Regions from separate parts of the Homo sapiens genome. Here all the other regions are linked to region 1. Evidence: promoter capture Hi-C in 16 types of primary human blood cells and fetal thymus (Javierre and others, 2016). All regions are on one chromosome and are shown on one strand. Each heading gives the region's core, a stretch centred on a gene start or on the middle of the fragment in contact. The rest is flanking DNA. Distances are from core to core; before and after follow the strand shown.

Region 1 (3,251 bases), core at 168-2,667:
TTACATGAATTTCTTTCATGTAAAAAAATTTTAAAGTTTTAAAATTAGAGACAGGGATTGGGTGGGGTGAGAGTGGATCTCTCTGTGTTGCCCAGGCTGGTCTCCAACTCCTGACCTCAAGCAATCCTCGCTCCCCGTCCTCACGTAGTGGTGGGATTACAGGAATTAGCCATTCCACCTGGCCGGATTTCCTCATTTAATCCTTATAACCGAGCTGTGAAGTAAATATTATTATTTGCATCATTTTACACATCGGGAAACCGAGGCTCAAATAGGTTAAATAAATTTATCCAAGGAGACACATCTAGTCAGGGCAGTAAGGAATTAAATCTAGAAAGTCCTAATCTAGAGTTTATAACCTTTGTACAATATTGTGTACCTAGGATGTTTTGCTACTGTGTATCTACTGTTTTAAATCTCCAGCGAGTTTATGCTGGGTCTAGGAGAGAAAGGGAGGCCCTGCTAAACATTTCATGTGCTTCTTCTCTCAGCAGTAACGTTCTCAAAGCGGCTAATCAAGAGCTAGAATCGATCAATAGATAGATATCAGGCTGGAGGGTAGCAGTCTGGTCTGAAAGCCGGTCCGCTAGCATTCATAATCTCAGCGTTCAACCTGGGCGTGCCTCTCATCTCTCCCGTTAACACTCCCTGCTGTGCTGCTGATTTTTGGCAGTAATCCCAGCACTTTAGGAGGCCGAGGTGGAAGGATCACTTGAAGGCAGGAGTTCGTGATCAGAGTGGGAAACAAAGTGAGACCACCCCCCCCCCCCCCCACTCCGCTGTCTGTATAAAATTTTTTAATAAAAAATTAGCCGGGCGTGGTGGCGTGCGCCTGTAGTCTCAGCTACTCGGCAGGCTGAGGCAAGACGATCGCTTGAACCCGGGAGACTGAGGTTGCAGTGAGCTATGATTGCACCACTCCACTCCAGCCTGGGCGACAGAGTGAGACCCGAGGGGATGACAAGGGGGCTGTGCTCCTTTGTGAAATCCCGTTGTCCCAGGGCAGGAGGGGCCGCACTTCACACAGGGAGAATCTATGCTCAAGAGCGCAGAACTAGTTCGTCTCGGTCCATCGTCACTGGTTTTATCCCATTAAAAATAGTAATTTGCTTTCTCCTAAAAGCGTATAAACACAAAACCAGCCCCTGACTGCGAGACACCAAGCTTGTTTAGGTCTAAGCCCGCAGAGAACCCCCGATCCCAGAATTAGCTGGCGGGCCCGGGAGGAAGTGTTCCCGCCCTCTGTCCCGCCCCGCGGCCCCAGCCACTTCTCGGCCCGCCCTCAGGTTTACTCTCCGCCCTTCAAAGGCGGCAGCCAATCGGGGAGCCGCGTCCCCGCCGCGCGCGCGCTGCTCCTCCTTCTTGCGGGCCGCGCCCTGCCGGCAGTGACGTGCCCCGCCCTGCAGCCGCGGGATTCAAACTCCCGGAAGCGGCATCCACACCTGATGGTGTGACTCGGCCGACGCGAGCGCCGCGCTTCGCTTCAGCTGCTAGCTGGCCCAAGGGAGGCGACCGCGGAGGGTGGCGAGGGGCGGCCAGGACCCGCAGCCCCGGGGCCGGGCCGGTCCGGACCGCCAGGGAGGGCAGGTCAGTGGGCAGATCGCGTCCGCGGGATTCAATCTCTGCCCGCTCTGATAACAGTCCTTTTCCCTGGCGCTCACTTCGTGCCTGGCACCCGGCTGGGCGCCTCAAGACCGTTGTCTCTTCGATCGCTTCTTTGGACTTGGCGGTGGGTATCATCTCCTTACAGATAGGCGCAGAGAGGCCAAGTGACTTGCCCAAGGTCTTTTGTTAGGACGGCTTTTTCCGATTGGCAGGCACTTTCGTTGTGTGTTCCTCAAACATCTTTATTTTAGAAGTGAGAAAACTTGTGCCTTTTTTTGCAGTTTCTCTTTTCCTGTCTGTCTCCTCAAGTGAGATTTTATGTGGGAATTTTTAAAGATTGGCGTCGCCTTGTAGAAGATGCGGCTTGTAATTGAGGCCTTGTACCATTTACTGGATGGAAGCGCTTGTTTGGTCACCTGTCCAGCATGACTTAGGTCACTTCAGCTAATCAACCAATCATTTCTTTTCTTTTTTCTTTTTTTTTGAGATGGAGTCTCGCTCTGTCACCAAGGCTGGAGTGCAATGGCACGATCTTGGCTCACTGCAACCTCTGCCTCCTGGGTTCAAGCGATTCTCCTTCCTCAGCCTCCTGAATAGCTGGGACTACAGGCGTGCGCCACCACGCCCGGTTAATTTTTGTATTTTTAGTAGAGACAGGGTTTCGCCATGTTGGGCAGGCTGGTCTCGAACTCCTGACCTCAGATGATCCACCTGCCTCGGCCTTCCAGAGTGCTGGGATTACAGGCGTGAGCCACCGCGCCCGGCCCCAATCAACCAATCATATCTGAGGGCTTGCTGTTAGGCTCTGTGGGTAACAACAACAACAACAAAAATCAAAGTGCAGTCCTTGAAAAAATAGTTGAACAATTGAAAAAATAAAAGGTTAGCAGGAAGTGTAATTGGGTACTAGATTGTGTAGGGGTGGGGGTGGGGCAGCTATATCGTTTGTTAAGAGTTCACAGAGGGAAGGCATGCTGAGGAAGGTTTGAACTGGGGGAACCCTGTGGATGACTGGAATAGGAAATACAGGGAAAGGTGGCCGGGCGCGGTGGTTCACGCCTGTAATCCCAGCACTTTGGGAGGCCGAGGCGGGCAGATCACTTGAGGTCAGGAGTTCGAGACTAGCCTGACCAATATGGTGAAACCTCATCTCTACTAATAGATAAAAAAAAATTAGCCAGGCGTGGTGACGCGCACCTGTAGTCCCAGCTACTCAGGAGGCTGAGGCAGGAGAATCCCTTGAACCCGGGAGGCGGAGGTTGCAGTGATCTGAGATAGTGCCACTGCACTCCAGCCTGGGCGACAGAGCGAGACTCTGCCGCCCCTAACGCCCCGCCCCCGCCAAAAAAAAAAAGAAAGAAACAGAAACAGAAAAAAGAAAATACAGGGAAAGGAGGTTGGTGGGACTAGGTGGTGGGGGAGATCCAAACCGTCTGGGCCAGAGGCTAGAAACTAGTAGTCATTCATTCACTGCCAGAGTTTCTGTGCAAAGGTTAGGAAGCAGATGTTTGGGGGTTCTTTCACGTTCTGCAGATCTATATTTCCATCATTTTGTGTCTCAATGACTTGGTAGTAGTTTTCTGTCCTACGACCCACGATATCAAGTCAACAGTGTGTTATCAACAGAAACACATAGGAAAGAACTT
Region 2 (3,147 bases), core at 88-2,587, 550 kb before region 1:
GCCCTACCCTCTGGTAACCTATAAATCAGAAATCAGGCTTCTCTCTACTTCTGTGAGTGTGACTGTTTTAGATTCCTCATATAAGTGAGATTATGCAGTATTTGACTTCTGTGCCTAGCTTATGTCACTTAGCATAATGTCCTCAAGGTTCATCCTTGTTGTTGCAAATGACAGAATTTCCCTCTTTTATAGGGCTGAATAGTATTCCATTGTGTATATGCACTTTTTTTTAATCCATTCAAAGGTCGATTCCGTATTTTGGCTATTGTGAATAATTCTGCAGTGAACATGGGAATGCAGATAACTCTTTGAGATACCGATCTTTTTTTTTTAATTTTTATTATTTTTTTTGAGACAGAGTCTTTGCTCTATCACCCAGGCTGGAGTGCAGCAGCGTGATCTTGGCTCATGGCAACCTTCGCCTCCCAAGTTCAAGTGAGTCTCCTGCCTCAGCCTCCCAAGTAGTTGGGATTACAGGTGTGCACCACCATGCCCCACTAATTTTTGTATTTTTAGTAGAGACAGGGTTTCACCATCTTGGCCAGCCTGGTTTCAAACTCTGACCTCAAGTGATCCGCCTGCCTTGGCCTCCCAAAGTGCTAGGATTACAGATGTGAGCCACTGTGCCTGGCTTGATACTGATTTTAATTCTTTTGGTTATGCACCCAGAAATGAGATTGCTGGGATCATATAGTAGTTCTATTTTTAGTTTTTTGAGGAACCTCCATCCTGTTTTCCATAATGGATATATTAATTTACATTGCCACCAACAGCGTGCAAAGGTTCCCTTTCTCCACATCCTCACCAACACTTATCTTGTGTCTGTTAGATAATGGCCATTCTCACAGCTGTGAGGTGATACCTCGTTGTATTTTTTTTTTTTTTTTGAGACAGAGTTTCGCTCTTGTCGCTCAGGCTGGAGTGCAATGGTGCAATCTCAGCTCACTGCAACCTCTGCCTCCCAGGTTCAAGTGATTCTCCTGCCTCAGCCTTCCGAGTAGCTGGGATTACAGGCCTGCACCACCACGTCCGTCTAATTTTGTATTTTTAGTAGAGATGGGGTTTCTGTATGTTGGTCAGGCTGGTCTCGAACTCCCGACCTCAGGTGATCTGCCTGCTTCCGCCTCCCAAAGTGCTGGGATTACAGGTGCGAGCCACTGTGCCTGGCCAGCCTTGTTGTATTTTTAATTTGGATTTCCCTGATGATTAGTGATGTTAAGCTTTGCTTATTCCTGATCTGTATACCTGTTGGACATTTTTGTGTCTTCTTTTGATAAATATCTATTCAGGTCCTTTGCCCACTTTTTAATTCAGTTATTTGTTTTCTTCTATTGAGTTGAGTTCCTTATGTATTTTGGATACTAACTCCTTATTATATGTATCAGATATATATCAGCAAATATTTTCTCCCAGTCTGTAACTTGCCTCTTCATTCTGTTGTTTCCTTGCTGTGCAGAAGCTTTTTAGTTTGATCCAGTTTATTTGTCTACTATGGCTTTTGTTGCCTGTGCTTTTGGGGTTATATTTTTAAAAATCATTATCTAGACCAATGCCATGGAGCTATTTATATTCTTGATTGCCTAGCCCTAGTATAGTGCCTGACAGAGTAGGAACTTATACACGTTTATAGAATTTGGTTCTATAAACAGATCATATTAAGACTACATTAACATTCTTAGAATATAAATGTGCCTTTCGTTAAATTATCTCTTCTTCCATAGTAACTGGTTCCCTGGCATTTGTATAAAGTTAGTAGTTTATTGTCTTCTAGTAGTTACTTTCCCTGTAACTTGCCTTTTAACCTTTCATCATTTTTATTTTTATTTTTAAAACAGAGACAGCATTTCGCTGTGTTGCCCAGGCTGGCCTCAAGTGTTCTGCCTGCGTCAGCCTCCCAAAGATTACAGGTGTGAGCCACCTCATTTAGCCCTGCCTTTTAACGTTTTACTTTATTTTTAAACTCTATGTAGAATGAAATAGAATTAGTGAAAGTAAATACCAAAAAAGTAATTTTTGTATTTTTTGGTAGAGCTGGGTGTGGTTGATTAGTGGCGCACACCCTGTAGTCCCAGCTACTCAGGAGGCTAAGGTGTAAGAATCGCTTGAGGCCGGGCACGGTGGCTCACGCCAGTAATCCCAGCACTTTGGGAGGCCAAGGTGGGTGGATCACCAGGTCAGGAGATTGAGACCATCCTGGCTAACACAGTGGAACCCCGTCTCTACTAAAAAAACAAAAAAAAAAAATTAGCTGGGCGTGGTGGCCGGCGCCTGTAGTCCCAGCTGCTCAGGAGGCTGAGGCAGGAGAATGGCGTGAACCCGGGAGGCGGAGCTTGCAGTGAGCCAAGATTGCGCCACTGCACTCCAGCCTGGGTGACAGAGCTAGACTCCGTCTCAAAAAAAAGAATCGCTTGAACCCGGGAGGCTGAGGCTGCAGTGAGCCGAAATTGCACCACCGCACTCCAGCCTGGGCGACAGAGTGAGACCCTGTCTTAAAAAAAAAAATTAAAAAAAGTAAAGCTTTCATTTATGCTACTTCCTTTCTACCCCTACTGTTGCAGCTTTAATTCAGATCCTCGTCACCTTTTATTTAGATTATTCTTCAGTTTTTCTAAGTGATCTCTCTGTGTTCATTATTAGGCTTTTTCCAGTTTATCCTTCACACAGTGAATATCTTCCTATGACATTCCCTTTCCTAAAACCTTTTAATGCCTACAGAGTGAAATCTGGATGTCTGTTTGCACACCTGTCCAATCTCATTTTTCACCATGTCCCTCAGACTTTATACTTTGTAATACTGCACTACTTGTGGTTTTACACCCCCCCACACACTAACGCTCACTCCTTGTGCCTTTGCGTATATATTCCAGTGGTCTAGAATGCTTTTCTCCCATAATCTCTTTAGAAATTTTTTTCATCTGTAAAGACCCTACAGGACTACTCACTTCTCTGTCTAACTTTCCATGAGATGTTCTTCACGTACTCTGATAGTCACTTCCTTCTTTGTCCTGTTTCTGAACCTTGTACTTCTTGTATTGTATGTATAGCACAACATTATAGATGTTATAATTTGTTTGTGTATCTATCTCTCCTATTAGATTTCTTGTGTTTATTGTCATGAGGTAGGGAATTGTCATCACAGCCCAGAGC
Region 3 (3,488 bases), core at 926-3,425, 630 kb before region 1:
ACATGTTTTCTATGTTATGTTTATTATCTACTGTATTCTTACAATAAAGTAAGTGAGAGAAAAGAAAATGTTATTAAGAAAACCATAAGGAAGAGAAACTATATTAATATCCACTAAGTGGAAGTGGGTCATCATAAAAGTCTTCATCCTCATCATTTTCATGTTGAGTAGGCTGAGGAGGAGATGGGAGGAGTTGGTCTTGCTGTCTCAGGGGTGGCAAAGGCAGAAGAAAATTGTGTATATATAAGTGAATCTGCATAGTTCAAACCTGTGTTGTTCAAGGGTTAAGTGTACTCAATTTTCTTGAAAAATAAAAGCATCTACACAATTGTATTATATTTCTCTCTTACTATTTTTCCTAGTATTATCTTAACTGCTGGTAATGATTTTAAATTTTTAATCCAAGTAACTAATTTATATTTCACATTAAAACACTGGGATTAAACATTGAGAACTGTCTGTTGTACACAAGAATTTTATCACACTTGGAAAACTCATGAGCACACGTAATATAAACTCCTATAGCCACAAACATTCCTTTTATACCTTCTTAAAGTGGCAAAACTGAACACTTTCATTAACATGTCCCAAAACCATAGCCTTTATATAACATATAAAGAAACAAATATATAAACTTAATTGTGCTTAGTAATCAGTCGTCTTGGGTTCTGTTGTACTAAAAATTAATTAGATATCCAATTATTATTTATTAATTAACTTAATATCAAGGTTTTGTTACCTAAAAATGTTGGAAATTATTTTCATACATGTTTAAATTAAAAGTTTGTCAGAATAATTTATTTGAGCGCGAGTTTACCTTTTCATCATCTTAAATATTATGTAGGGTAATGTTAGCTTATGTGATCAGTAAACCTGTATGTGTTTAGGAAAAAAAATCTTAGCAGAATAAAATGATTAATCAGAGACAAGAAATAGCTATTTTTAAAAACTGAAATTATCAAGGTTTGCCAAAATTGTATCTTATTTAGGTGACCTTGGGTTTTAAAAATGTTTTTGAGTTAGTTTCCATAAGAATTTTTCTTAAGTCTAACACATTTAACATATTAGAAGTTCAATTTCCTTGTTTTGGGGGAATTTTACAAATATTCTATTTATATAAGTACTTATTTGTATCAATAAGCCAGTCAGAACAGAGTTTCTTTCATTCAAGAGACTTTATAGTTTAAACTATTAATAGAGATAACTTGTTTTACATACTTAATGAAGAGGTAAAAGTCTTTCTGAATTACAGATGCAGAGCTTTGTAACTTTGTTTCTGTAACTTCACTCACAGGTCAAGAGATGTAAGAGTCACAGAGATAGAAAAACTCATTGGTCCAGATGTCAAAGACCTGTTCTTGGTGGACATGAAATTCTTAACTGGATTTGAGCTCAGAATAAACAGATATGTTAAAAAGACTAACAAACCAAAGTCTCTTTTATCTTTTACCCAAGTGATCTCTATCATCCGTCTATAAGGATCACCAAGTAAATGATCATAAAATCGAATTCTCAATCATTGCTGCCATTTAGGGGTGATAACTTACTGGCCATGCAGTAACTAGAAACCACACCAGAACATATAATTTGTAGAGAGGATGGGGGAAGCGGGGATGACCCAGAGAAACAGGCAGCAAAGTTAAGTATATATTGCTGCTTGGGTTTTACTTCTGGGAGCCAAGAAAAGATAATACCCAAGCTTGAGTAGCCCATGAGGTGCAATTATCTGATAAAGCAGTTTTCTTGGCTCTGTCAGGTGAATGCACTGGGCATTTTGGTAAAACTTCCAAAACTATTAAAAGATAATTTTCAAAAAGGTAAAATCATGACCCTCACACAAATGTAAAATGAATATGTGCCAAAGATTGTATTTAACTTATTAAGAGGGAATCAGTATGATGTTACAACTGTTTCAAAGGCAATGGCAAAAAACAATATAGGATTTGGGAATGCTGAGATGGATATATAAATGGATACACAACTGGTCAGTATCCACAGGGCAGTAATCAATTGTATTCCACTGACAAAAATATATCTGCATTTTTTTGGACAAGAGTCATTTGCATTAGTATCAGCTTTCTACAATTTATAAAGTTGTAAAATAGCCAAAAGACAGTGAAAGGCACAGATAACCCCAAAATATGCTAGATAGGACATTCAGTAATCTTTTTTGTCCATTTCAGTTTTTTAAAATTGCCATTAGAAACATTTTTTTCATTTGTCTTTTTACTGTAGTTATACTTTTATTTTTTGCTGTGCAAAAGTTTTTTATTTTATGAAATAAAATTTATCAGTCTTTCCCTTTTTAGCTTGTGAATTTTGAGTCATAGGAAAGTTTTCCAGATTCCGGAGTTATAGGGGAGTCCACCCATGTTTTCTTTTGGTACTTGTATGGTGTTTTTTAATGTTGCATCTGATTCTGTTTGCATTTTCCTGGGGTGTGGCATGAGGAGTGGCTCTTTATCTTTTTTCACGTGGCAACCCAGCTATCCTAGTACCTCTTATTAAAATGTAGGTCTTTTTCATGTTGATTTGAGATGGTGCCATTATCATGTACTGAATTTTTATACGCAGTGATACTGTATGTGGGTTTCTTGGTTCTGTTCATTGTCTATATGTCTATTCATGTGCTATGCAGCACTTTTAATTTTGGAAGCTTCGTTGTTTTAATATCTGGTAGGGCTACCTGCATCTCATCGCTTATCTTTTTCAGGGATTTCCTGGTGACTCTTCCTTATTTCTCTAAACAAACAATAAATTTCTCTAGTTCTAGAACACTCAAAGTATTTGATTGGGATTGAGCTATAATTATAAATTAATTAGGGAGAACAGGCATGTTGATGATATTGAGTCTTCCTATCCAAGAACATGTTATGTCTTTCAAGAGAGTTAAACTTTTCCATAAATAAATTTTAGAATTCCTTAAGATTATGTGTAGGTGTTTTTTCTCACTATTTTAATTGGGCCCTCCCTTCCTTCCTCCCTCCCTTCTTTCCTCCCTCCCTCCCTCTTTTTTTTTTTTTTTTTGAGACAGGTTCTTGCTAGAGACCAGGCTGGAGGGCAGTGGCATGATCATGACTCACCTTGTAGCCTCAACCTCCTGGGTTCAAGTGATTCTCCCACCTCAGCCTTCCGAGTACCTGGGACTAAAACCTTTAGTATTTTCTCATTAGGAGAGCTCTGGCTTTTGTGCTGAGGGATTTATATTTTATCATGTTAAGGAAACATTCATCAATACCCACTTTATTTAGTGTTTTTAACAAGAAAGTTTGTTGAATTTTGTCAGATGTTTTTCAGCATCTATGAAGATGGTCATACGATTGTTTTGCTCCATCAGTGTGATTGAAATTAGTGCTTGGCTAATTTTTAAAATTTTTTGTAGAGATGAGGTCTTACCCTGTTGCCTAGGCTGGTGTCAAACTCCTGGGCTTAAGTAATCCTCCCTCCTTGGCCTTCCAGAGTGCTGGATTACAGGCATGAGCCACCAT
Region 4 (3,164 bases), core at 44-2,543, 600 kb before region 1:
ATTAAAAACCTAAGACAGAGGCTACCCTCAAGAAGTTTATGGTCTATTTGGGGAAACAAAATATATTTTAAATACAAAACATGTAAATTACAATACAAAGTAATATATGATTACGTGTCAGAATAACTGTAAGGGGTTGTAAGTTTACCTGTCCTGCAGATGAAAAGATTACTTGGCATGGGAATGATTGGCAAAGGCCTGCTGGAAGAAATGGGACTTGAAATGAACCTCAAACAATGGGCAACGGATGTGGGGTGAGGTTTGGAAAGTTCCCAAGACCACTCTCAGGTTCAAAAATTTGCTAGAGGGACTTGCAAAATTCAGCAAAGTTGTTACACTCATAGTTACTGTTTGTTACAGCAAAAACAACAACAACAAAAACTTTCAAAAAACTACACAGATTAAAATCAACAGCAGAAAAGGCACATAGGACAGGGACTAGGAGAGTTCCACGAGTGAGCTTTCAGTTGTCCTTTCTCAGTGGAATTGTGGACAGCACTTACTGCTCCCAGCAGTGATGTGTGGTAACACGCATGGAGTATTGTCAATCAGGGAAGCTCATCCAAGCTTTGATATCCAGGAATTTTATTGGAGTTTGGTCATATAGCCATGACTGACTACCCATGTAGACTTGGCTGACTGCCCACATTGCTGACCTCCTGCCCCTCCACAGCTAAAACTGTGTGGCCTCAGGCCTCACCGTGAGTCACACTGTTAGCATCTGCTATTTGGCAGTCAAAGCCTTCCAGGTAAACAAAGAAGACACTTACCAGGCAGGGTATGCCAAAGGCTTTCCTCCCAGGAATCAGTGGCAAGGGTAGTCCTTTACTGCATGGTGAATAGAGGGGTACGCTCTCTGTGGAGACAGCATGAGCTGAGAGACAGTAGGAATGAATATGCCATGTTTAGGAAACATTGTGGTGACTGCAATATGGGCTTGTACCTGAGAATATGAACCCTGGAGCCGGACTATCAGGAGTCATATCCCAGCTATCACTTGTGCTGGTTGTGGAATTTATGGCAGTTCAGTAATCTGTAACTCTTCTGTAAAACAAGGGTAATAACAATACCTACTTTGTAGCCTTGTTGTGGGGATTAAAGAGTTAATATATAAAGCATTTAGAACATGAGCGTTTACTTTACATAGTAAATGCTGTAAAAATCATGAGTTTGTTCATTCATTCTTTAACCATTCATTCACTCAGTAATTCTTTGTTTTTGAATGTTAGTATGTTAAAGACTTGTATTAGGCCCACATCTCCTGAGCCTCATACCTTTATTTCCAGATACCTCATGCTATATCTAGAGCTTGTGTGGTTCTTTTAATATTATCATGTTCAAGAAGAAATAAAATACTTTCACGCAAATTATTTCTGCTAAAGGTAATATTATCACCAGTTTATTTGTTCAGAGATTTAATTTTAAGATATCACCTCTTGCAAAGATCAGGCTTACTAAATAATACATTTTGGTTAATTTTAGCTTTCTTATATACATTCAGGTCTGTGTATGATGACCAACCAAATGCGCACAAGAAGTTTATGGAAAAGTTAGATGCTTGTATCCGTAATCATGACAAGGAAATTGAAAAGATGTGTAATTTTCATCATCAGGGTTTTGTAGATGCTATTACAGAACTCCTTAAAGTAAGGACTGATGCAGAAAAACTGAAGGTAAGAAATATGTTAAAATTATTTGCCTTTGTTCTCATTAAATTACTCAAGTCTTAGTTGATAGTACATATGTACAAGTCATTATTAAGTATGTTACTTTCAAGAAGTGAATTAGTATATGTATTAGGGAATGCTCTTTATGCTCTATTAACACAGTTGTCATGCTAATGACAGGAGTATTCTCTTTTTCTGAAGCAAGTAATGCACTGACTTAACAGGATTTCTTTCCATGCAGGGAAGTGAACTCAAAACATGCATACAATGAAAGGCCCTATTTGCAGTTTTTGAATTTCTAAAATGACAGTTAGTACAATATTTATAAAATGTTATCCTCTAAAATTCCTTTAAAAGCTTATGATAAATAGTTATGTTCTCAGCATTATTTAATAATGTTAAAACTTTTTGAAAAGTTTAACAGCAGTGTGTATTTTTCTTAAAGAAAGTTGGTCTACACTTTCTGCCATACAGCTAAAACATTATTTATTAAAAGAGACCTAGATTTGTTCAGTCAGGATAAAAAATATTTAATTATAAGAATTGTCCTATTTATCTTTCTTTACGTTTAGAGCACTTAGCAGACAAAATGACCCTGGTTCACCAAAGGTTATGATTAGAAAACCATTGTATAAAGGATATTCAGATAACAAGAGACTAACTACAGCATCAATGAGGTCACTGAGCATCTTTGTTCAGAAATTAATGAGATTTTTAATAAACCAGAATGTGCTTCCTTACTATGATGACCTAATGAGTCACTTAATATGTGGGAAAATTTGAGGTTGAGCTTTGCCTGCACCTGCAGCATTAAAATGTTGCTGTGGATTGAAATTTCTGTGTTTGATGTTAATCAACCACCCAGTGTTTGCATTCAGCAAAGTATGAATGTTTAATTACCATAAAATGCAATCACCATTTCCTACAGACAATGAATGGCACATAGACCTCATTGAAGTTATCAAAAGGGGACCAGTGGTCAATTGGGTCAGTGATTTGAATTGTTTGACAGACTTAGAGAAGCAAGTAAAGTTCAAAAATCCTGAGTAAATTTGAGAAGTTTGCCACAGAATCTGTTAAAAAGAACTGTCATAAGTAATTGAAGTTAACAAAAGCCCTTTTCAATCAAAAGTTCAAGTTCAAGCTGTAGAGTTAATTTGAATTTGCATTTCTTTGTTCTAAGTTTCTCATGAAGCATGATCTGATTACAAGGGTGAGCAGTTACATCAGGGCAGTTTTATGCATATTTGTCTAACTAAGGTGAAATTAAATTTTTAAGGTGCAAGTTACTGATACCAACCGAAGGTTTCAAGATGCTGGAAAAGAGGTGAGAAAATGATACTTTTCTGGGTATTCAGTATGTAGTTGTTCTTTAACTGTTTGTTTAAAAATATGAACATTCCTTCTTTTCTAAGGTGATAGTCCACACAGAAGATATCATTCGATGTAGAATTCAGCAGAGAAATATTACAACTGTAGTAGAAAAATTGCAGTTAT
Region 5 (3,446 bases), core at 819-3,318, 870 kb after region 1:
GTGCTGTGGCTCACCCTTGCAATTCCAGCACTTTTGGAGGCTGAAGCAGGAGGACTGCCTGAGCCCAGGAGGTCAAGGCTGTAGTGGGCTATTTTTGCACACTGCACTCCAGCCTGGGTGACAGAACAAGACCCTGTCTATTTAAAATAATAATAATAATTTTTAAAAAATGGACCTGAGAAGACTGAATAGTTGTCTAATAATCTGATATAGTCAAATAAGAATACCCTAAAAGTACCAGCAAAGTTGTAGAACTAGCCTGACTCAAAATAGTCATATTCCTTACAAGTTTTGAGTACTTAATAATTTTTAGATAGTTTTACAAAATAACCATGACAATTACAACTCAATTTCACCCCAAGTTTCCACATGAAAAGAAAGTCAGAAGTTTAGAAGTGTACCTTGGCAATACTGTGAAGAATGAACCAGAGACAAGCAATGTTCTTACCTTACCTAACTGCTGGTGAATGGCAAAGTGGCAGCACTGGCACACTGCCCAATATTTATGTAACGGAGTACTTTCAGTTTGTTTTCCCAAGTAGTGCATCTTCAGATCTGCCTTCCAGACAAACTAAAAGCAGAAGCTTGAATGAATACTGTATTGAAATGTTTTCTCATACTGACTGTGATAAAGCATATATGCTTTATAGCAGTCCTATAGGACTACTATCCTTACCCACTCTAGGAAGATCTGAGAACAAGAAAAGCGATTACTAGAAAGCAAAGTTATTTCCATGAAGAACACTTCAGAATAAATCAATGGAAACCAGAGCACATGATGTTTTCACAATTACCTGGTCGCTTTTCCTTTGGGTTCTCCAATGGAATGGGTTTCTTAGACACAGCATCTTTCACAGCTTGCCTTAGTTTCCTCTGTTCTTTTCGGTACTTCTTGAGAGTGCTTTGTTGTTTAAACTGCTTATTTTTTAGCTTGTTTTCAAGTTTGACTTTACTAGTTTTTATTAACTTGCGAAAGCTTGGGATCTGTTTTTTATTTCTTCTCTAGAAAATAACAGAAAGAATACTGCATACCCAGAAACTTATTTTTTAAATCAGGTTAAAGAGAACTGATTACAAATTTCATTAGACCAATTCCACAATTTCAATGTCCCACAGCCACAGACTTGCATATAAAAGCTAAAACCAAACGATGGCTTTAATCCTACAGAAGAGCGCTACAGCATCAGTTATTCAATCCCAATTCACAGCAATTCAAAGGGTTCTACGATCCCCAAACAGGTTAAGAACCACTGATCTAGTAGTGGTAAGTGGCTATTCAAGGCTAGTTTAACACACCTGTAGTTTAACACATTCAAAGCAAAATGCTGGCTGTCTTTAATAAAACTTACATTTATCTACGATTTTATTACTTACAAAGTGCTCCAACAAATCACCTCTAACAGCCTAGTTGAGTACTGACTGCTGTTATCCTCACATTACTGATGAAGCTGCCAAAAGACCCATAAACTAAGGAGGGCAAAACTGAATTCGGATCTTTGGATTCCACTTCTCTTGCTGGTGACTCATTCAGAAATCCCAAAGTTAGTCCTGAACCCCAGGACTACCTCTTATTTTCTGGGAGAACCAGGACAAATCACTTGCTTTTCTATCTCTTTACCCTTCATGGGTACCGTGACTCACATTATAAACTCGCTGAGGGTAGGACCCTGCTTCTCATTTGTGAAAAACGAGTTCGAAAGACGGTCTTGAAAAATTCCTTCAAAGTATGAAATCCCACGCATGCAAAACTCCGTGCCTGTCTCTTCGTGATACTCTGAAGTGGTGCGCGCACACAGTGGGTAACCAAGGATGAGCTCGGTGTAAGGAATGGAAAGCCCCCAGTCTAAACCACCGCCCCCTAGACACGGGTGAAAACCTGCCTAAAAGCTAACTCAGGCAGTGACTCTATCACCCGAAGGGGCCCTAGGCCGCGGCGACCGGGCTTTTGAGGACACTTACCGCCTTCATCCTTAGGCCTTAAATGAATGCCGGCCAGACAAGTTCACCAGAAGCAGGGTTACTACAGAAATCCCGGGGAATGACACACGTGCCGAAGTCCCTACACTACCAGAGCCGGAAACGGCCTTCAGTCCCTCCCAATCCTCCGCCGCCGGAAGTGAGGGCGGGACTTCCGTAGACAGGTTCGGGCTCGCGCCCTCTCGCGGTGACTGTCTCGCGGCCCTGGACCGGTTGCCCCCCGGCGTGCGCGCGCGGACTGGCACGAGGGAAGCCCCGAGGGCGTCGGTGCCAAAGGCGGGAAGCCGGGCGGGAGGGGCGCATTTTGCAAGGTTATCTGAGTATGATTCTTTGACTCTCGCCCTATTTATTTCTTTTAAAACCTTGGGGAAATCGGGCTCCTCCTCTCAGAATGAGAGGACTTGGTTTTTTCGGTCACCTCATTGCATTTTGTGCCTCTCCTCACGTTGCTTATCTCATGCTGTTATAGATACTGATTTTCGTAGTCTTTTTCCTCCATACAGTCCTGAGGGCAGAAAGAAGCTTATTTTTTGTGTGTAATGCCTGCCCCTCGACGGACATTCTGGCCGTGTTTGTAGCATGGCGAATGATTTCTCATCAGCCTTGGTCACTTAAAAGTCTGTGATTCTTAGTGTTTTATTTTGCATTTTTTTTTTGCTTTAATTTTTAACCATTAGCTGATAAAGAACTGTATCCATGGCTGGGTGCGGTGGTTCACGCTTGTAATCCCAGCACTTAGGGAGGCAGAGGCGGGTGGATCACCTGAGTTCCAGGAGTTCGAGACCAGCCTGGCCAACATGGTGAAACCCTGTCTCTACTAAAAATACAAAAATCAGCCAGACATGGTGGCGTGCGCCTGTAATCCTAGCTACTCGGGAGGCTGAGGCAGGAGAATCGCTTGAACCCAGGAGGCAGAGGTTGCAGTGAGTCGAGATCACACCACTGCACTCCAGCCTGGGTGACAGAGCAAGACTGTCTAAAAAATAAAAATAAAAATAAAAAACTGTATCTGCATTTCAGTATCTTACAACTTTGGGTAAATTCTGTCTGCTTAGTAATTTCACCAAAGTCGTTTTTTGTTTTTGTTTTTTGAGACGGAGTCTTGCTCTGGCGCCCAGGCTGGAGTGCAGTGGCGCAATCTGGGCTCATTGCAAGCTCTGCCTTCTGGGTTCACGCCATTCTCCTGCCTCAGCCTCCCGAGTAACTGGAACTACAGGCGCCCGCCACCACGCCCAGCTAATTTTTTTTGTATTTTTAGTAGAGACGGGGTTTCACCGTGTTAGCCAGGATGGTCTCGATCTCCTGACCTCGTGATTCGCCCACCTTGGCCTCCCAAAGTGCTGGGATAACAGGCATGAGCCACCGCGCCCCGCCTAAAGTCGTTCATTTTTACAGGAAGTTTTATGGATTGCAAGAATAAGAGTATCAAAGTGCTTGTCTCTCAAAGACTTTTTTTTCTCAATAAATTT
Region 6 (3,363 bases), core at 102-2,601, 520 kb before region 1:
GATAATCCACCCACCTGCCTCGGCCTCCCAAAGTGCTAGGATTACACGCGTCACTTATTGTACTTTTTAATAATTTCTATTTATATTCCCTATTTATTGATGTATTCTCATAATTTTCTTTTAGTTCTTTAGATATGGTTTCCTTTTGTTCTTAAGTTTTTGTCTTATAAGTTCAACATCTGAGCTGCCTCACAGTTTCTATTGGTTGCTTTTTTTCCGTGTATTGGTCATACTTTGTTTCTTTGCATAACTTGTCATTTTTTGTTGATAACTGTACATTTATAATAATATAAGATGACAACTTTGGAAGTTCTCACCTCTCCCAAGGGTTTGTTGTTTCTCCCATCTGTTGTTTGTTTTGTGACCTTTCTGAACTAAATCTGTAAGTCTGTGTTCTTTGTCATATGTGGCCACTGAAGTCTTTGCTTGGTTAGCTTAGTGGTCATCTGGTGATTGGATACAGATCTGCTTAAAAGCCTGGAACCTGTAAGTCCCCTAGTCTTTGCCAAAGGGCTCCGTGCACATGTTGGGGTGTGTCTTAAACACTGAGATAGGAAGTTAATCACTCTGCTTTGACTTTTACTTCCTGCTTGCACATGATACCAGTGGGCTAGGGGACGTCCCCAAATGCTGCTGGGACCTTGATCCCAGCCAGTGTCCAGGCTCTTGATACTGTCGTGAGAAGGAATTCAAGGATGAGTCAGAAAATAGTGAAAGTATGGAGACTTAATTGCAAAACAAAAAAGTACACATTCAAGAGAGGGGAGTGCAGGCACACTTGAGAGAGAGAGAGTGAGTGAGTCATGCACAAGGTGGGGTGGAGCTGCTATCTTTATGAATTTCTTTAACCAAGGGATGAAATATTCATGATGATTCCTGGAAAAAGGTGGAATTTTTTTTGGAACTGTGGTGCCACCTGTTTTTACACCAAATATGAGTGTTCCTAAAATTGTCATGGCACTGGTGGGTATGTGATATAGTATGTTATGAGTGTACATTGAGCCCTGGGTGAAACTTAGGCCAAATCTATCACCATGTTGAGTCCTGTCAGTCTTAGCCAGCATGGTTTACACCCTGTTTTTCAGGGTCTTGTCTTATCAGCCCATAGCTTCTGCAGCTATTTCAACAGTTTCCTTTGGCTAGTCACATAAAACTGCTGCCTAGAATTTCATTTTCTCCTGTCACTACCCTGTTTTATTTCTGTCTTGCACAGAGCTTCAAGGTCAGCCATAAATGAGAGCTTGGAGCCTTCTTAGGTCTTTCCCAAGTGTGTACACAGCCCTATGTATGTATGTGGCCGTTTAGATGCCCAGGAATCTGTTAGAGCTTTTCAGAGTCATCTGTGGACATTTTATTCCCTAATTTTTCCTTTTAAGCCCTTTGGTTGACCTATCGTTTGTCCCAGTTGTTACCTACCATCTCAGGCATCCTCCATGTTAAACTTATTGCCTCTAATTGTTTTTGACAGCTGCCCCTGGGGAAAAGGCTTTTTGTACTAGGCAAGTCCTGATTCAGGTCAAATAAAGACATCCCTGTAAATAGGCATGGAGTCTTCCAGGGAACCACCAGATAGGTCAAATAATGATAATTCTCTGAGAATGTGGCTTTGAAGGAGCTGCAGCTCTGTTCTGTCTGCTTTGATAGCTGGCAAGCTATAGGTTTCCACCAGAGTTTTAGAATGTTGTCTTTTGAGAGTACTGTAGAGCTGGAACAGAGGAAGAATAATGGAAATAGGGCACATTAAAATGCTACAAAGCTCATTTTTCTACCAAGATTTAGCTGTTTTTCTTGAATAAATGATGCCTGTATTTCTGCAAGTTTTGAACTAATTTTCAGAGTTCTGAAAAGGTTGATTTTGACAATTTTTGATAAGTTTTCTGGTTACTTTTATGGATGAGAAAATGTTTGGAGATCCTCCCGCTGTTATTTTTGCTGGCATCACTCCTATTGTTTCTTTCTTCTCAGAGAAATTAACTATCTCAATCTCTTTCTCTTCTGCCTCCACCCCTGCTTAAACTCAAAGCACTGGCAGATATTCCATTTCTTCTGTGATAGTCCAACTTAATTGCTCTCAGTGAATCAGGGGTTAGATAGAGGTGGTCTTCTGTGTTCTTGGCAACTTTCGTTTTTCTACTTCTGTTTCTCCTAAGGGTCCTCTTAGAGTTGTGAGAACAAGTCAGGAATTAATATCTCATAAAGTATTCTATCACATAAAGACAAAAAAAGGTGATAGGTTAGAAAGGAACTAAGAAAAGATGTGATGTGATATCCAGTCAAATAAATAGAGTACTGCCAGAAAAAAAAAACCAACAGTTTTCCTGGACTTTGAATAAATGGCTAAAATATTAAACCAAAGGTAAATGTAAAATAATATCTAGAATTGTAAGAACACTTGTTTTATTATCTGTTTCTTGTCTTTGTTGTTATTTTGTCCCATGTCAGGATGCTCGACATGCAGCAGAAGGAGAAATATATACCAAACTGAATCAAAAAATTGATGAATTTGTTCAGCTTGCTGATTATGACTGGACAATGTCTGAGCCAGATGGAAGAGCTAGTGGTTATTTAATGGACCTTATAAATTTTTTGAGAAGCATCTTTCAAGTGTTTACTCATTTGCCTGTAAGTATAAAAATTTTCAAAAATTGTTTTATGTTTGCTTACTAAAGTATATTTTAGAATTTAGTTTGAGGTTTCCTTGCTTAAACCAACTTCTTGGAGTGCATGTTTCTTTCTCCATTATTATAAATCCATTTGTAAGGAATTATAACTTAGCCAAATTGTTTGAAATTTTAATTTATTTTATTTTTAACCAAAATAACTGTAACTCTCTTTCCACCAAAGCCAAGGCAAAACCCTGAAACTGACAATATAGACTTAAATAGAAATAATCTCTAATAGAAATAATTTACATAGAGTTAACACAATTGCTCGTCTCCCTCTCCCGTCTCCCTCTCCCCACGGTCTCCCTCTCCCTCTCTTTCCACGTCTCCCTCTGATGCCGAGCCGAAGCTGCACTGTACTGCTGCCATCTCGGCTCACTGCAACCTCCCTGCCTGATTCTCCTGCCTCAGCCTGCCGAGTGCCTGCGATTGCAGGCGCACGCCACCACGCCTGACTGGTTTTCGTATTTTTTTGGTGGAGACGGGGTTTCGCTGTGTTGGCCGGGCTGGTCTCCAGCTCCTAACCGCGAGTGATCCGCCAGCCTCGGCCTCCCGAGGTGCCGGGATTGCAGATGGAGTCTGGTTCACTCAGTGCTCAATGGTGCCCAGGCTGGAGTGCAGTGGCGTGCTCTCGGCTCGCTACAACCTCCACCTCCCAGCCACCTGCCTTGGCCTCCCAAAGTGCCGAGATTGCAGCCTC

What was found. Contacts are between HindIII fragments. The CHiCAGO score rates a contact against its expected background, and 5 or more counts as called.
Region 2: a contact is called between a fragment that was not itself captured here and the fragment with the promoter of CEP55 in region 1, in 1 of 17 cell types (M1 macrophages). The highest score is 7.5, in M1 macrophages.
Region 3: a fragment that was not itself captured here is called in contact with the fragment with the promoter of CEP55 in region 1 in 3 of 17 cell types (naive CD4 T cells, activated CD4 T cells and naive CD8 T cells); the score reaches 6.6 in naive CD4 T cells.
Region 4: a contact is called between a fragment that was not itself captured here and the fragment with the promoter of CEP55 in region 1, in 3 of 17 cell types (naive CD8 T cells, fetal thymus and total CD8 T cells). The highest score is 5.3, in naive CD8 T cells.
Region 5: a contact is called between the fragment with the promoter of NOC3L here and the fragment with the promoter of CEP55 in region 1, in 4 of 17 cell types (activated CD4 T cells, naive CD4 T cells, fetal thymus and 1 more). The highest score is 7.0, in activated CD4 T cells.
Region 6: a contact is called between a fragment that was not itself captured here and the fragment with the promoter of CEP55 in region 1, in 1 of 17 cell types (M2 macrophages). The highest score is 5.2, in M2 macrophages.

What each region holds. Positions count from the first base shown.
Region 1 is chr10:93,495,195-93,498,445 of GRCh38, forward strand. It overlaps CEP55 (centrosomal protein 55), which reads left to right and starts at 1,418. Exons shown (of 9, transcript NM_018131.5): 1 at 1,418-1,729. RefSeq lists a silencer at 1,237-1,746. The HindIII fragment of the contact is 5,966 bases long and covers 1,163-3,251 here.
Region 2 is chr10:92,943,903-92,947,049 of GRCh38, forward strand. The region is part of intron 13 of EXOC6 (exocyst complex component 6); the gene reads left to right. Among named protein-coding and RNA genes, the nearest start is that of EXOC6, 97 kb to the left of the region's middle. The HindIII fragment of the contact is 239 bases long and covers 1,219-1,457 here.
Region 3 is chr10:92,865,806-92,869,293 of GRCh38, forward strand. All of the region lies in intron 1 of EXOC6 (exocyst complex component 6), which reads left to right. Among named protein-coding and RNA genes, the nearest start is that of EXOC6, 19 kb to the left of the region's middle. The HindIII fragment of the contact is 957 bases long and covers 1,698-2,654 here.
Region 4 is chr10:92,891,848-92,895,011 of GRCh38, forward strand. It overlaps EXOC6 (exocyst complex component 6), which reads left to right. Exons shown (of 22, transcript NM_019053.6): 2 at 1,502-1,673; 3 at 2,947-2,994; 4 at 3,083-3,164. Among named protein-coding and RNA genes, the nearest start is that of EXOC6, 45 kb to the left of the region's middle. RefSeq lists enhancers at 545-1,044, 2,377-3,012. The HindIII fragment of the contact is 1,457 bases long and covers 566-2,022 here.
Region 5 is chr10:94,360,871-94,364,316 of GRCh38, forward strand. It overlaps NOC3L (NOC3 like DNA replication regulator), which reads right to left and starts at 2,069. Exons shown (of 21, transcript NM_022451.11): 1 at 1,960-2,069; 2 at 795-1,002. The coding sequence starts at 1,968. RefSeq lists an enhancer at 1,743-2,002 and a silencer at 2,143-2,272. The HindIII fragment of the contact is 1,523 bases long and covers 975-2,497 here.
Region 6 is chr10:92,971,611-92,974,973 of GRCh38, forward strand. EXOC6 (exocyst complex component 6) reads left to right here. Exons shown (of 22, transcript NM_019053.6): 18 at 2,443-2,622. Among named protein-coding and RNA genes, the nearest start is that of CYP26C1, 88 kb to the right of the region's middle. The HindIII fragment of the contact is 8,426 bases long and covers 1-3,363 here.